5 separate regions of the Homo sapiens genome follow, and regions 1, 3, 4 and 5 are each linked to region 2. Evidence: promoter capture Hi-C in 16 types of primary human blood cells and fetal thymus (Javierre and others, 2016). All regions are on one chromosome and are shown on one strand. Each heading gives the region's core, a stretch centred on a gene start or on the middle of the fragment in contact. The rest is flanking DNA. Distances are from core to core; before and after follow the strand shown.

Region 1 (2,739 bases), core at 73-2,572, 270 kb before region 2:
GTAGGAGAACTATGACCATTTTGAAGAGGCTTGTTACAGAGCTCTTCAGCGGGAGCAGATCTGTACGGTCCCCTGGCCTTGCCTCCGAGTGGTCCTTCCACGCTCCACACCCCTCTCTACTGGCTCCCCTTCTTTCCACTTCTTGCAGTTTTTTTCATAGACTTGGTGTTTGCTCTCAAGGATGACCTCATTGTTGGGAGGGAAAACTGTGGGAAGATGTTTCTGCCTTCCCTTTCCTCAACTCTCAGATTGTACTACTGCCTCTTCCCATGAACCCCATGTTATCGTTGCCTTTGTAGAGGTCACGGAGTAGGTTTGTCAGAGTTTTGTGGGATATAGGTGACATGAGAGTTTCAAAAAACCAAGTCCTTCTATATTTCTTTCCCTGCTCTGTTCTCTTTCTCTTACTGATTGAATTTCTGTCGAGTTCTGAAAAATACCAGTATTTTGGGCAAAGCAGCTAAGTTTTATTTTGGCTGTTGCAGAGTTAACATTGTAAACAAAATAATTTCTGCTAATAGAGTCAAGTAATCCTATCAAACTTTGCTTTCCTGGGCTGGACCAGACTATATCTAGTCCATTTGCAAAACATTATTACATACCCGCTTTGTGCAAGAGGCTTACATCAGTCACTTAAGGAAATAAAAAGAAGAATAAAACAGGCTACGTACAAATCATTCTCAAAACCACCGTCAGCCGAAACCTGGTGAGCCAACCCAACCCTACCTACCTGTGGCATCTCCCACACTTCGGATGACCAGATTTACTTTGGCTAATCTTAACAGACTATACAAGGTATGCCTTTCTCACCACCGTGTCCCATGCTTCTTGCTCAGAGGTGCTCCCTCAGTCAAAGAGAACAACTCCCTTAAATAACTCTGCCTGTCTTTTTACTCATTAGAAGCCCTTCGAACAGCAAGTGCATTCTTTGTTTATATGGGCATGGTACACTTGGAGAGAGAAGTGTTCAGGGTTGAAAAATGGCTGGAGAGCTGAGAGAATCCTGCATGTTCTTTCTACTTAACCCTGGTCTTGTGAAAAGCCATCTCTTACCCGGAGGGGGAATTTTCCCTGTTGTATGAGACCCTGACCCCTTGCATGTGCCCTAAAGCAGGCACATAGTTTTTATGTGTGCCTGTTAGTTTGAATTTGTGATACTGATCTGCTTTTTGTCCCTGCTGACGGTTATTATATCTTAATGGGCGAAACACTACTCTAATGATCCTTGTGTATATAATTCTTGTGGTACAGAGCAGGCACCAGAGGACCACATAAAAATGTTTGCCTCAATTTCCCTGCAAAAAAGAAGCCCAGAAACCAGACTTGACCAAGTAACAGATTTTTAAAGGTAAAGGAATCTAATAAAATTACCAGCTTTTCACAGCGTGTGTCTACTTCCTTTTGACATATTGTGAGGTGTAGGTGAAATATTCTAACCGAACTGACAGTGTGAGTGGGACAACTAAGGAGGGAAGGAGATAAAAGTAAAAACCACCAGCAGTGATTGATATTGCAGTAGCAATGAGCTGTTGGGGTCTCCCCTTTGTGGACTTGACACTTCACCTTTCTGACACCATCTGCAGGAGTGTTAGTATAATGAGACCTATACAGATGGAAACAAAAGTAGGATTACTTGGAATTACTGTATCAGAGCTTTGAGGCTTGCTGTAAAATTGCATAGGCTTGTATTTGTTGGTTCAGTTTATGAGCGGTGTGCCTGTGTGCACACACATGCGTGGAAGAGACAGAGACAGAAAGTGAGTGTTTTCAAAGTATAAAATGGAGGGAGCGATCTGATCTTGGGTGACGCCGAAAATAGTTTAGTTGAAGACTGACTTCTTTCCACATTGTGATCATTATGATTACAAATTAGTTAACTAATTAATTGGGCTTATGTAATGGCTAATAAGTTTAATGGTAAGTGCTTGCAAGAATGACTTAATCGGAGAGCATTCATTGATTCTCTAATACGTTGTTCCAGTATTTTGAGAATAGAATTATCAGGTGTGGATTCTGGCTCTCTAGGAACCTAAACTATATTTGGTGACTAAGACATGGGATTATGTACATGTAAGGCAGTTCTCTTAGGCATCCTAGGACTTGGTAGGCCTTTTTATTTTTCAGACTTCTGGCTGATACCCTAACCTTCCCAGGCCAATATTATTAGAAATAATACAACTAATTTAATCTCCATAAGTTCTAGGCTCAGTATCAATCTCTTGATATTGCTTCTGCTACCTCTGAATTTTCTTTTACTTTTTAGATTTTATTTTTAAGATCCTTCCGTGGAAGAGGAGAAACTTCAGTGGAATACTTGGCATTGGCCCTAAGTTCATCTGTTTATCTACTTCTTTTACCTGTCCTTTCCTCTCTACTCCATTCCTTTCCCAGTCCCTGGGGGACAGATCAGTAGTCATGCTCACCTCTTAGACTCCTCTGCCTGTTTCTGGGGGGATGGTACAAAGCTCTTCCCCTAAACCTAGGCTCAAAGCCTCAGAGTGGTTTCAGGCTAAGTCCCCAGAGCTAGTTAGCAATGTCACTATAATAGTGCTCTGTAGTGTCTTTCTTTTTTGCCCTATCCTTTCTGTCCACACTATTCAAGTTTTTGCTACCTCTTGCCCATTACAATAGATTCTAAATTAGTCTTTTCAAATTTTGACTTTTTGTGTGTGTAATATAATTTTGTCCAATTTACTCCTCCATTCATAACTGCTCAACAGCTCTCTCCTGTATAACAAG
Region 2 (2,700 bases), core at 45-2,544:
TAGTTTGAGGTTTGTTTGCTCAGCCACATGCTGAGTGATCGTAGGCAAGTCCCTCAGTTTCCTCCTCTGCAAAACGGAGATAATTAAAGCATTTACCTTTTAGGGTTGTTGTGAGGGTGTGTGCAAATACATGTTAAGAGTGTTTAGGACAATGCCAGGCACAGAATGAGCCCCTATATTGCTATTATTATGTTGCTAACATTGCCTTAACAGTTCTGGAGGTTAGAATATGGGGAGGCAGTGGTGGTGAGAGGGAGTTAACTAGCCTGGGGGTGGGAGGGTCAACCTGTCCAAAATGTTGGTTTCTATGGGTATGTCTGCAAAACAAGTGAACATTATCCTTGCAGCTTACCCCACAGCTGCTTAACGTGTTTGGATGCATGCTTCAGGCAGCGGCCTTGCAAACCCTTTTTTTTTTTTTTTTTTTTTTTTTTTGAGACGGAGTTTCACTCTTGTTGCCCAGGCTGGAGTGCAGTGGCGCCATCTCGACTCACTGCAACCTCCACCTCCCAGGTTCAAGTGATTCTCCTGCCTCAGCCTCCCGAGTAGCTGGAATTACAGGCGCCCACAACCAAACCCGGCTAATTTTTGTATTTTTAATAGAGGCAGGGTTTCACCATATTGGTCAGGCTGGTCTCGAACTCCTGACCTCAGGTGATCCACCCCCTCCCCTCAGCCTCCCAAAGCGCTAGGATTACAGGCGTGAGCCACCAGGACCGGCGCAAACCCTCCTTCTAATCATTCTTCTACTGAGGATGGGGGATGGAGAGGTGGGAGGAGGCAAAATCGTGCATTTCCTTTACTGAAACAAAAATTTTTATACCCTCCAATTTCTTTTTCTGCAAAGAAAAGGCCTTTTCTAGCCACTAGATATAAAACCTTGCTCTCCAAAGAGCTGAGAGTAGCTGTTTAACAGCAAAATCTGCAATTCTGATGGAAAAGGCTGGAGGCAGACACGAGGCTCTCCATCTCCATCTTTCCCTTGTCCACTCTGAATGCAGGATGTCATCCCAGCAAACGCCGCTCTGATTTGATGAACTACACAATCTCCTCCCTCAGTACTCCCTTCCCCTTACTGATAGCCAAACATTCTAATCCCCTACGCATCCTTCGTCTGACCCCAGCCTCCACCTCAAGGATTTTAGCAGGACGCCCTCCCACAACTGGCAATACCAAATCTCGGGTTGGCGGCAGGCGGCCGAGCCGACATCAAAACTGTACTCACCGAGGGGCAGCCCGAGGAGCCTACTGCGGTATGGGCCTTGGTGGGGGTCAGGCCAGGAACGGGCGAACTGGAGAGCTAGTGCGTCACCCTCCTCCGCATCTTAGCTCCGCCCCGGCCCCTCCTCCAGCAGGTGGAAGCTGCCTCGCCAGGACTCCCCAGACTGCATCCCAGATAAGTGTGCCTCTCACCAGGAGCCGCACAGCTCTTCAACCCCCACATTCTGCATACAAACCTCTTGACTATGACATTTCCTAGAGACCCTCTTCAGCTCCATCGACCTCCATGTAAGTCATTCACCTCCTCAGTCTCAATTACAACGTGCCAGATCACCACTACAGCACACCTTTAATTTTGTCAACTTCTAGAATATGTTTTTTGTTTTTGTGTCTAAAGCCTTTCAGCTTCAAGAGGGAAGAGGCAATGAATGGTAGAGAGACAAAAGATGAAGTCCTAAGAACTTTTAATGGTGGCTATGATAAGGTATACCCTGCTCTGAGGGGCCTCTTACTAATCAGGAAAACTATGGGGATATTTAATACAAGAAGCCAGAAACTTCCATTAAAGTGATAAACTTGAAAATCTGTAGAAATATCAGCTCTGAGTGTTATTTCTAAACGTCCACACAAACCATCAAGTAAAATTCCACTTTGGCCTGAAGAGAAACCATACTCCCAGCATACTGTAGAAGTATGTCCAGGTAGTCCCAGATTCTTAAATAAGGGTTTATGGAGCACCTACTATGTGCAATCTTGAACACTGAAATTTGTTCAAATACTAAAATCAAAATGTAAAGCCATACAATAAATATGGCACTACAAATTTGATCAAGATGGAGGATGAGTAAAGAACCTGGGGGTCTCAAAACAAGTAACCTGATGAGGTTAGAATCCAGATCTATTTATCTTAGCTCTAGAGAGCAAATCCATTATCATCTACAGCAATTTTTATGCAATAAATAGAGGCTGGCAAAATTCATTTATGAGACACATGGCCTTTCATTTTGAAGCCAAGCCTCTTTCCCAGTACTTTTTCTTTCACGGATGCTCATCTGCTTCTTGCTTCTTGTTTCAATGCATGCTAAATCAACAGGACAAACACTATCCATTAAATGGCTCTAGGCTCACTGGCCATGCTGGAGTTAGTATTTATTATTGATGCACAGAGACTTTTTTCAATTCTGAGTTTTACTTTAGCTTTGTTCATTGTTATCTTCATTTTGTGGTTGAAAAAAATGAAGTCACTACAATTTACTGCTTTTGTGTTAAATTTAACTGAAATAGATCAAAATGCCTATGCTTCATTTGAAATTTGGTGTTTCAAAAATAAAACTTCATATATATTTAAGAGATCACAGAGGTTAGGTGCAGTGGCTCACGCCCATAATCCCAACACTTTGGGAGGCCAAGGTGGGAGGATCACAAGGTCAGGAGTTCGAGATCAGCCTGGCCAATATGGTGAAATCCCGTATCTACTAA
Region 3 (2,700 bases), core at 91-2,590, 300 kb before region 2:
ATAACAGTCATTATGAAGGTACCTTTATCTATTTGGAAGCCCATGACTTAGAAGTGGGATGACTGTTACTAAGACAAGCTGACTTGTCATCAGTAGCATATCTACTTTTTACCAACCAGCCTCTTAATGTCCATAGTTTGGCCAGGTGGTGGAATTCAGCGAGTATTGATGTGAAGCATAAGCAAGAGATAACACTAGTTTGATGGCACAAAAATAGAAGTTGTATTTTTTAGAATTGTACTTGGGAGAATCAGATTGTCTAATTTATGTGAATTCTCCACGCTGTTGTTCAATCTTACCAAGAAAGGCCAGATCATTTACACACTTGTTCTATATAGCTGACCGTGTACCCTATGTGGATATTTGGTATACAGGTCGAGTATCCCTTATCTGAAATGGTTGAGACCAGAAACGTTTCAGATTTCAAATTTTCCAGTTGAGCATTCCAAATCTGAAAATCCAAGACCTGAAATACCCCACTGAGCATTTTCCTTGAGCACTGTACCAGCGCTGAAAAAGTTCTGGATTTTGAAATACTTCGTATTTTGGAGTTCTTGAGTTTTGAATTTGGGATGCTCGACCTGTATATCATTGTCATGAAAGTAAATGTCTACTCATATATATATGGTTTCTACATTTATTTGTTTGTTTTTGGTGGGGTGAAATAGTTGATTCAGACAGGAAAAGCAGCAACTTTCACATGCCCTTAGTTCCCTGAAGTGCCAGCAGCTATTCATTGGTGATAGCACATGTGGCTGTATTTGAAAAAACTCTCTGCTTATTTGCCAGGCTCTAGGATAAAACTGACTGTGCTGGAGATGGAAACCCTGTGACTGGAACTGAGTATGTTCAAATGTGAAACTTAAGCCAAAGAGCAAAATATGCACTCGATCTGGTATAGGTATGAATGTGTTTGGTGTCTAGCAAAGGTGTAGATGTAGAAATTAATCATCTTCCTTTCAGACAGGGAAGGCTCCATGGAAGAAGAGGGCTTCTGTGTTTCTCTTAATTTTGTAGCTATGCCAAACTCACTTGGCTGAGCAGACTTCCAGCACTTGTGGTCTATTCAGAACCATTTATTTTTATTTTTGGCCCTGTCTGCCAAGCTCAGGCAGAAAGCCGAAGATATACAGTGTACAGATTTTCTGTAGATGTAAAAATCCCACTGGACCTGACAAGAATTCTTTCTCAGCCTGTCTGGCAGAACTTTTCTAGCTGAGGTTGAAGGTATGATTTTCCCAGTGTAGCAAATCTGTCTTCCCATTTTTGTCTTAATTCTTATTCACAGAGGCAGGCTTTAAAAAAATTCACATATGTGAGGAATAATAATAATTTGTCTATACTGGCTTAATGTACAGGTTTAGACAGTGTGGGCCTGCCTTTCCCACTCTGGAAGGCATTGGGAGAGTCCCTTAGGCGATGTAATAGTACGCACGTGTGACATGCCCTAATCCTGGCATGTGGCAGGGGTCTGGAAAGGCTTTGCCTTAAACTAGGCATGTCTAATAGGGTTTAACGCAACCTGTGAATTTGCCCCTGCACAAGGTCAGCTTGTAGGTCAGTGGAATGCTGCACAAATTGCATTCTCCTCCAGACTGTAATTATACCTAGGAGAAAGCCATGTGCTGCCAAGTTCAGCTGACTCTAGATAGGGCGGAGATAAAGTGAGGGCTTGCTAACGTCCCTCAAAAACTGATTTTTAACAATCTGATATAAAACATCTCTTGTTTAAAAAAAAATGGTGATCTTGAGGTTTCTGAAGGAGCTTAGTGTAGGGGATGGTGACCAGCTGTTTCCTACCTTCCCTGAGAGCAGAAAAAGATGGTTCAAAATGGGAGCATGAGGAATTTGAGCCAAACATCAGGTAAAATAGTTCACTGCCAAAAGTCTCTTAATACTAGAAAATGACTTGGAGGATTATTACACATCAGGTAATATGCATATGAGGACAAAGAAGAATGAAAAGTGAGTATGATAAGGGATCATAGACTAGGAGTGGAATGAACAGTTTAATTTGTATTTACAATTAGCTGAAGTAGTGCTCTGTTGTATTGTTTGAGAGAAAATGGCTATAAATGTGTGCATTATCTAAATGTAACCTTTATAATGAAGTGTGCACATTCTTGTAAAGTAAGGTCTATACTTACATACGTGGACTTCTGGGCCAACCCAAAGGCAGAGGGATAAATTAGATGAAATTTGTAGGTTTCTTCAGTGCTAAGTGTTAAATGACTCCAAAATCCAATTCAACCAGAGTAACATTGGATAAGCAAAATCTTACAAATACTTACACTCTCCAGTAAATGTTTTCTGAACTATCTTTCCTGAACAGCCTGTAGTAGCCACTTTTCCCCCCAAGAACCTACATGGAATAAAATCAAGTTGGGAGCTTAAAGCATAAATTCTATCTACTGGCTTCACGTAAACATGGAAAATAATTATTTTGACATTCATATTATTGGTTCCTGCAGCTTGATTTTTTTCGCAGGCTGCTTTTTATGTTACGTGGGGATAAGGCACTAACCTGTGGGCCGGGGCTTTTGGGGAACCTTTCCTTTGTTATTTACCTAAGGCAAGCTAACTAACTCCTTTTAATATGATGAAGCTGGATGCTAATACAGTCAGGAATCCCACTAACGTCTAACAATCAAATGTGATAAACTGACCTCATGGTTTTGTGAAAGCCTCTGCTGCTATTGG
Region 4 (2,700 bases), core at 33-2,532, 320 kb before region 2:
TCCTCTCACCAAAAAATAAGGGCCAAGAGTTTGTTTTTGGAACATCCTGATACTTCTTTTTTACAAAATTCAATTATACTTTGTAATTTCCCAAATGAATGGTTCATAAAAAAGTGAGATGATCCTGTAATAGCTTCTGCCATTAACTAAAGTACTAGTATTCCCTTTTTCCCAATAAAGACTCAGACATTTCCTAAAAAATCATTTCCCAGAATATTTATTTTGAGTCATGTTTCCGTATTAGTGTTCTCAAATTAGTGCACAGCCATTCCAGGGCAATAGCTCCCACCTGTAAGCCCTGGACGAGTGTGTCCGACAGCACGGGGAGCTGTTCCACACCTGTGTCCCACTAGCCTGCCTTCACTTCCTTCCCTGAGAGACTTCATGAGCAACAGGTAACTGTGGACCACAGCAGCCATCAAAGAGTCCCACTGGGAGATGTGGGCCCTTCACCCACGACCACGGGAAAGCTGGAGACAATCATTGTCTACATTGTTTCCTCCTCATTTAGTTGGCCGTTTTGAGAAGAAAAGCAATTGAATACTGAAGGTCTCACTGGTTTCATCATAAATCTAGGGCTTTACTTTTGAGCAAAATGAAAAGTAGATGAATAGGACATCAAGAGAGCCCTGCTTGGTGCGCATTTGAACCTGAAACATAACACGGGGGGCTGCCCCTCTATGATGTGTTAAGACTGCAACACGGGCACTTCCTGGTGGTACCACATATTCAAGTTCTTTTATTATGGGTCCCTCCAACTTTTTGTACCTATTAGCACTACTGCTTTTAAATGAAAATGACTCAAAGAGCCTGTGGAGTATTTGCTTAGGAGCAAAAGTGCAATTATTTGGGATACCTTCTCATAAAGGAGGCAAAATCATATTTTAATATTTTGTGCAACTAGAGGATTAAGTAGTTTATATAATGATTGCATCATAAATGTTGGTCTTGCTCTTCTGGGAAGCCAGAAACAAAATGTGAATTTTCAGCATTATGTGTACACTGCCTCTCATCTACCTAAATTGCTTTTGACTCCTGGTATGAACTGATTTTTTTTCTTTTGACGTTTTGCCTTCTTGGGTGTCTCTTTCGTGATTTCTAGAATAAGCAAGAGACACTTAAGGAAAAATAAATCCTCATCTAACTACCTTTTCAGCTTCTTAGTAAGTTTCTCATTTTCCTCCTCCTCTTTCTCTCTCTCTCCCCCTGCCTTCCTTTTGAGCTAGAATTGTATGTTCAGTGGTCAGTTGACCACCATGGCAGGTCATTCGTTGGGAAGCACGTCCTTATTATTGCCCTACCAAATGCTGGCTGTCCCAAAATCACTGAGAGGCAGTGTTCCAAAATTCTTTCATTCAGTATTGGAAATACCTTTCCCATAGAAATAGTGTTGTAAATGGTGATCAGGTGCTTAAACTGATCACGGTTGACTCCCAAAGCCAATTTACTCCAGAATATAAGTGAATTATAATACTAGTTACACTGGCCTGACCTCAGAGTCCGTGGGGCTAGAGCCAAGCAGGTGCAGGAAGTGGGGATGGGGCTGAGCAGTTGGCCTGACACTCTGCATCACTTCACTCTAGACGTCACCCCTTAGCTGCCCAGAACCTTCCCAAGGCCCAGACCAGTGGCCCTTAACATGCCGCATGCTCACTCCAGAATTCCCAGCTGACTTCCTTCTTCAAGATCCTACTTCTCCCCCGTCTCCCCCAGCACCACAGAGATAAGCACTTAACATCCGTGGTGCTTATGCTTCAAGTTGAAGTTAAGTGAGTAGCAGAGGGGTATGGCTGAGAGAGGAACACATACATGGATGTACTTCACTGGAAATGTTCTAGCCCTTGGGTTGGGTAATGGTTTCCCAGGTGTTCATTCTATTGTTATACTTTATAACTTCCATATGTCATACTATTACATGGTTCAACTATTGGCGAAATCATAATTTAAAAAATAAAAAGTAGAGGAGAGAAGAGGTGAATGTGGCCAAAACCAAAATGTCATATATCATGGGAAAGGCAGATCTATTGCAAAGTGTGAACACGCAGACCTGAGGAGCCAGGGCTGCCAACTGTTTTAAATACCAAAATCACCTGTAGTATTACAAAATTCTGTGGACCATTCCATGTAATAATAGTTATCTTTTTAGTTTTCATTGAGAAAATAGGTATGGAAATAAAGCTATATACTTTTAGATGTTATGGATTGTAACATATACCTATGTTTGATAAACAATAAGTATATAGATGAAATTTGTGGGCATTGATAGTATTTATTATTATTATTATTTTTGAGATGGACTCTTGTTCTGTTACCCAGGCTGGAGTGCAGTGGCACAATCTCAGTTCATCGCAACCTCTGCCTCCCGGGTTCAAGCAATTCTCCTGCCTCAGCCTCCCAAGTAGCTAGGATTACAGGCACCCACCACCACGCCCAGCTAATTTTTTGTATTTTTTAGTAGAGATGGGGTTTCACCATGTTGGCCAGGCTGGTCTTGAACTCCTGACCCCAAGTGATCTGCCCACCTCAGCCTCCCAAAGTGCTTGGATTACAGGTGTGAGCTACCATGCCTGACCAGTAAACATTAATAGTGTTTGAAATTAAGATAAGAAAGTAAACATTTGGGAGATGTGTTCTGACTGAGGGAACCCTGAGGAGTGACCACTGGAGTCAGCTCACGGAGGCTGTTCTGTTACGCCTGAT
Region 5 (2,700 bases), core at 1-2,500, 350 kb before region 2:
TCTCTTATCTTAATTTGATATACACACCACCAGAACAATTACTTGTCTCTGTAGACAGGGGGCAGTTTCTTGTACTGTCTTTGAAAGCTGCAGTAGGTGTCTGTATAACACAGTTCTGTTTGTTTTGTTTTAAAACTATATATGGCATGACCCTTATCTATGGCAAATAGATCCTTTAGACATAATTTAAAGGATTAACTGAGAAAACATAGAACAATGATAATTTTCAAATTTGCTAAATGAAGTTTATAAGTTGAACTGCATTAAATTGCTGATATTTGACCTATTTGACTTATAAAGCAGCAATTTTATATGGCTTAATGTAATATATTCATACCAAATGGCAAGGAAGTGAATGTGTATTGGAATGATATTTCTCTGAATGAATCGTATTCTGAAATGTTCACTGGGGCCTCAGCAGGTGTTAAGAGACTGCAGCTGAAAATGTCACAAGGCATTGTCCCTAGGAGAATGAAGCATCCCTTACATGGTGACTCTTTTCCAATTAGAATTGTTGAAGTATCACATGACCCTTATGTCCTGTGTCACTTACAGAACAATCTTGGCGAGAAATGTTTCATCTTTCAGGCAATCCATGAAAAATAAAGTTAGTGAAAACTGTTAAATTAGTATTACTTGGTCTAGTGAATAGGCTAAATATACATTGATCTCTCTGAGCCCAAACTGATATTTTACTCCGTAAAAATGAACGATTTTTATGACCCACTATTGATTGTTATGGTCTTTATAACATAGATTTAATAAAATTGTCTTCTTATTCCCTCATAGACCCTTTATAGTAAAAATTTCATGTCTTAGGAGTTATAGGAATATGATATTGCACATACACACAGGAAAATGATTAGGATATTAGAAGAAAGTGAATTAAACATCTAAGTTATATTTACTGCATGTCTTTTTGTTAAACATATGTCTTATCGAACATTTTCTTTATTTCTCCCACAGATACCAGTCCTTTTTCTTAAGTTTGTAAACTAAGATATGATCTATAATCTGCCATTGATGAATAAATTGGGCATCTTTTGATATTTCTAATTTATTTTCAGTTAGTCCTGAGGGAAATTTATAAACACTAAATCACACCAGTTTTTCTACTTCATACTTATACTATTGTTCTCAACCACATCATCCTCTAACCATCTTAAGTAATGAAAATCTGTGATTATTATAATGAGAAGAGGGTTTTCTTTTTGATACTTTATTTTCAGCATGCAAAACTAACATTGATTCCCGTTTTGATGGATACAATACAGGACCATTATTTTTCTGTAAAATTCCAACGTTCTAGAAAAGTGGCTCAGTCTTGAAACTGGATTGCCAAAACCAAATGGAAACTCCTTTCCTTTTGCTATAAAACAATGGTGGATGGGCTCAAAAACAAGGAGGGGAGAAAACAAGATTGCATTACAAATCTGGCAACATCAGCTACACTAGTAAAATCAAATCCAATGTTGTTTTATGACTCTGAATTTATGTGAGTACGCAGGATCAAAGGGCTTGAATCCCCCTGGACTACAAGGTCTATAGTTCATGGTAAAAACTCATCAAAAAGAACATTTTAGTCGTTTAAACTTTTCATTTTAATCAGCCACAGTAATAAAAGAGCCTTTAGGTGTCCAAAAATATTTTGCAAGATCAAGAGGTTGTTCTCTTGTTCGTAGAAGCAGCTCTCTTATTGGATCCATATAATGCCTGTGGCCTTTGAGTGTCAAAGGGCCACTGCCTCCACATTGTTTGCCCTTGTGGGATGGTTTCTTTTGGTTCTTCTAACTGTGCATTATGTGATAATAAATTACGGTGTCTGACGGAAGGACCATAAAATTTTCACACCATTTATCAAGCGATTTTAGCCATTTAAAGTTAGGTGTCTGACAGCAAGCCAAGTCGTTTGTAATGTTTAGATAGAAACAGTCTACTGCCTGCATCTTGACCAGCATCAAGAGACAGCCCTGCAGAGGAGAAAGAACACGAGGCTGCAGCAGAAGACTCAGCTTTGAATCACAGCCCTGATGCTCCCTAGATTGTGATTTTCGATGGTCCAGAATTTGGGGCTCCTACCTTCACCACAGTGTTGTTTAGATCATGTAGGGTAATATTTGTCAAGTTACTATGCAGCATATGAGAATCAATATGCAGTAGATGTAGATGGTGCAGGAAACAGCCTGAGCAGTCCAGCATTTCCAGCAAGAGATCTAAATAGGTAAAGCAGGGAGCTGGCCAGAAGGAATAAGTTGATGAGAAAGTATTCCTGAGAATGTAGAAGACAGCGAAATCAGGGACCCAGGAGATTCTGGGAAGAAAGAGGTGGCATTTCTTCTGAAACCGAGAGAAAATAAAGAATGAGGGCCTTTGTCTATGGGCTATAAATGCCTTTATTTCTTTGCTTGGTTGTTAGGTTTGGCCTTATGCATAGGAAAAGAAAGGCAGGTGGCTGGTGTTTCTTCACCTGTTCTCTTTGATATCATCTACTGCTGCTTCTGCTCTTTTCTCGTTTGGTTGCTGCTATGGTTTGGCTGTGTCCCCGCCCAAATCTCGAATTGCAGTTCCCATAATCCGTACGTGTCATGGGAGGAACCTGGTGGGAGGTAATTAAATCATGGGAGCAGTTACCCCATGCTATTCTCGTGAGAGTGAGTAAGTTATCACAAGATCTGATGGTTTTGTAAGGGGCTTCTCCCT

What was found. Contacts are between HindIII fragments. The CHiCAGO score rates a contact against its expected background, and 5 or more counts as called.
Region 1: a fragment that was not itself captured here is called in contact with the fragment with the promoter of SCG5 in region 2 in 2 of 17 cell types (M1 macrophages and M0 macrophages); the score reaches 6.6 in M1 macrophages.
Region 3: a fragment that was not itself captured here is called in contact with the fragment with the promoter of SCG5 in region 2 in 7 of 17 cell types (M2 macrophages, M0 macrophages, M1 macrophages and 4 more); the score reaches 14.7 in M2 macrophages.
Region 4: a contact is called between a fragment that was not itself captured here and the fragment with the promoter of SCG5 in region 2, in 6 of 17 cell types (M0 macrophages, M1 macrophages, M2 macrophages and 3 more). The highest score is 16.7, in M0 macrophages.
Region 5: a fragment that was not itself captured here is called in contact with the fragment with the promoter of SCG5 in region 2 in 7 of 17 cell types (M2 macrophages, M0 macrophages, M1 macrophages and 4 more); the score reaches 17.7 in M2 macrophages.

Annotation. Positions count from the first base shown.
Region 1 is chr15:32,914,541-32,917,279 of GRCh38, reverse strand. All of the region lies in intron 10 of FMN1 (formin 1), which reads left to right. Among named protein-coding and RNA genes, the nearest start is that of GREM1-AS1, 200 kb to the right of the region's middle. The HindIII fragment of the contact is 4,132 bases long and covers 1-2,739 here.
Region 2 is chr15:32,640,304-32,643,003 of GRCh38, reverse strand. SCG5 (secretogranin V) reads right to left here and starts at 1,294. Exons shown (of 6, transcript NM_001144757.3): 1 at 1,226-1,294. The region is part of intron 9 of ARHGAP11A-SCG5 (ARHGAP11A-SCG5 readthrough); the gene reads right to left. RefSeq lists enhancers at 522-1,160, 1,161-1,801. The HindIII fragment of the contact is 7,166 bases long and covers 1-2,700 here.
Region 3 is chr15:32,940,860-32,943,559 of GRCh38, reverse strand. The region is part of intron 9 of FMN1 (formin 1); the gene reads left to right. Among named protein-coding and RNA genes, the nearest start is that of GREM1-AS1, 220 kb to the right of the region's middle. The HindIII fragment of the contact is 4,431 bases long and covers 1-2,700 here.
Region 4 is chr15:32,964,989-32,967,688 of GRCh38, reverse strand. The region is part of intron 8 of FMN1 (formin 1); the gene reads left to right. Among named protein-coding and RNA genes, the nearest start is that of FMN1, 230 kb to the left of the region's middle. The HindIII fragment of the contact is 4,024 bases long and covers 1-2,700 here.
Region 5 is chr15:32,990,838-32,993,537 of GRCh38, reverse strand. All of the region lies in intron 7 of FMN1 (formin 1), which reads left to right. Among named protein-coding and RNA genes, the nearest start is that of FMN1, 200 kb to the left of the region's middle. The HindIII fragment of the contact is 4,209 bases long and covers 1-2,700 here.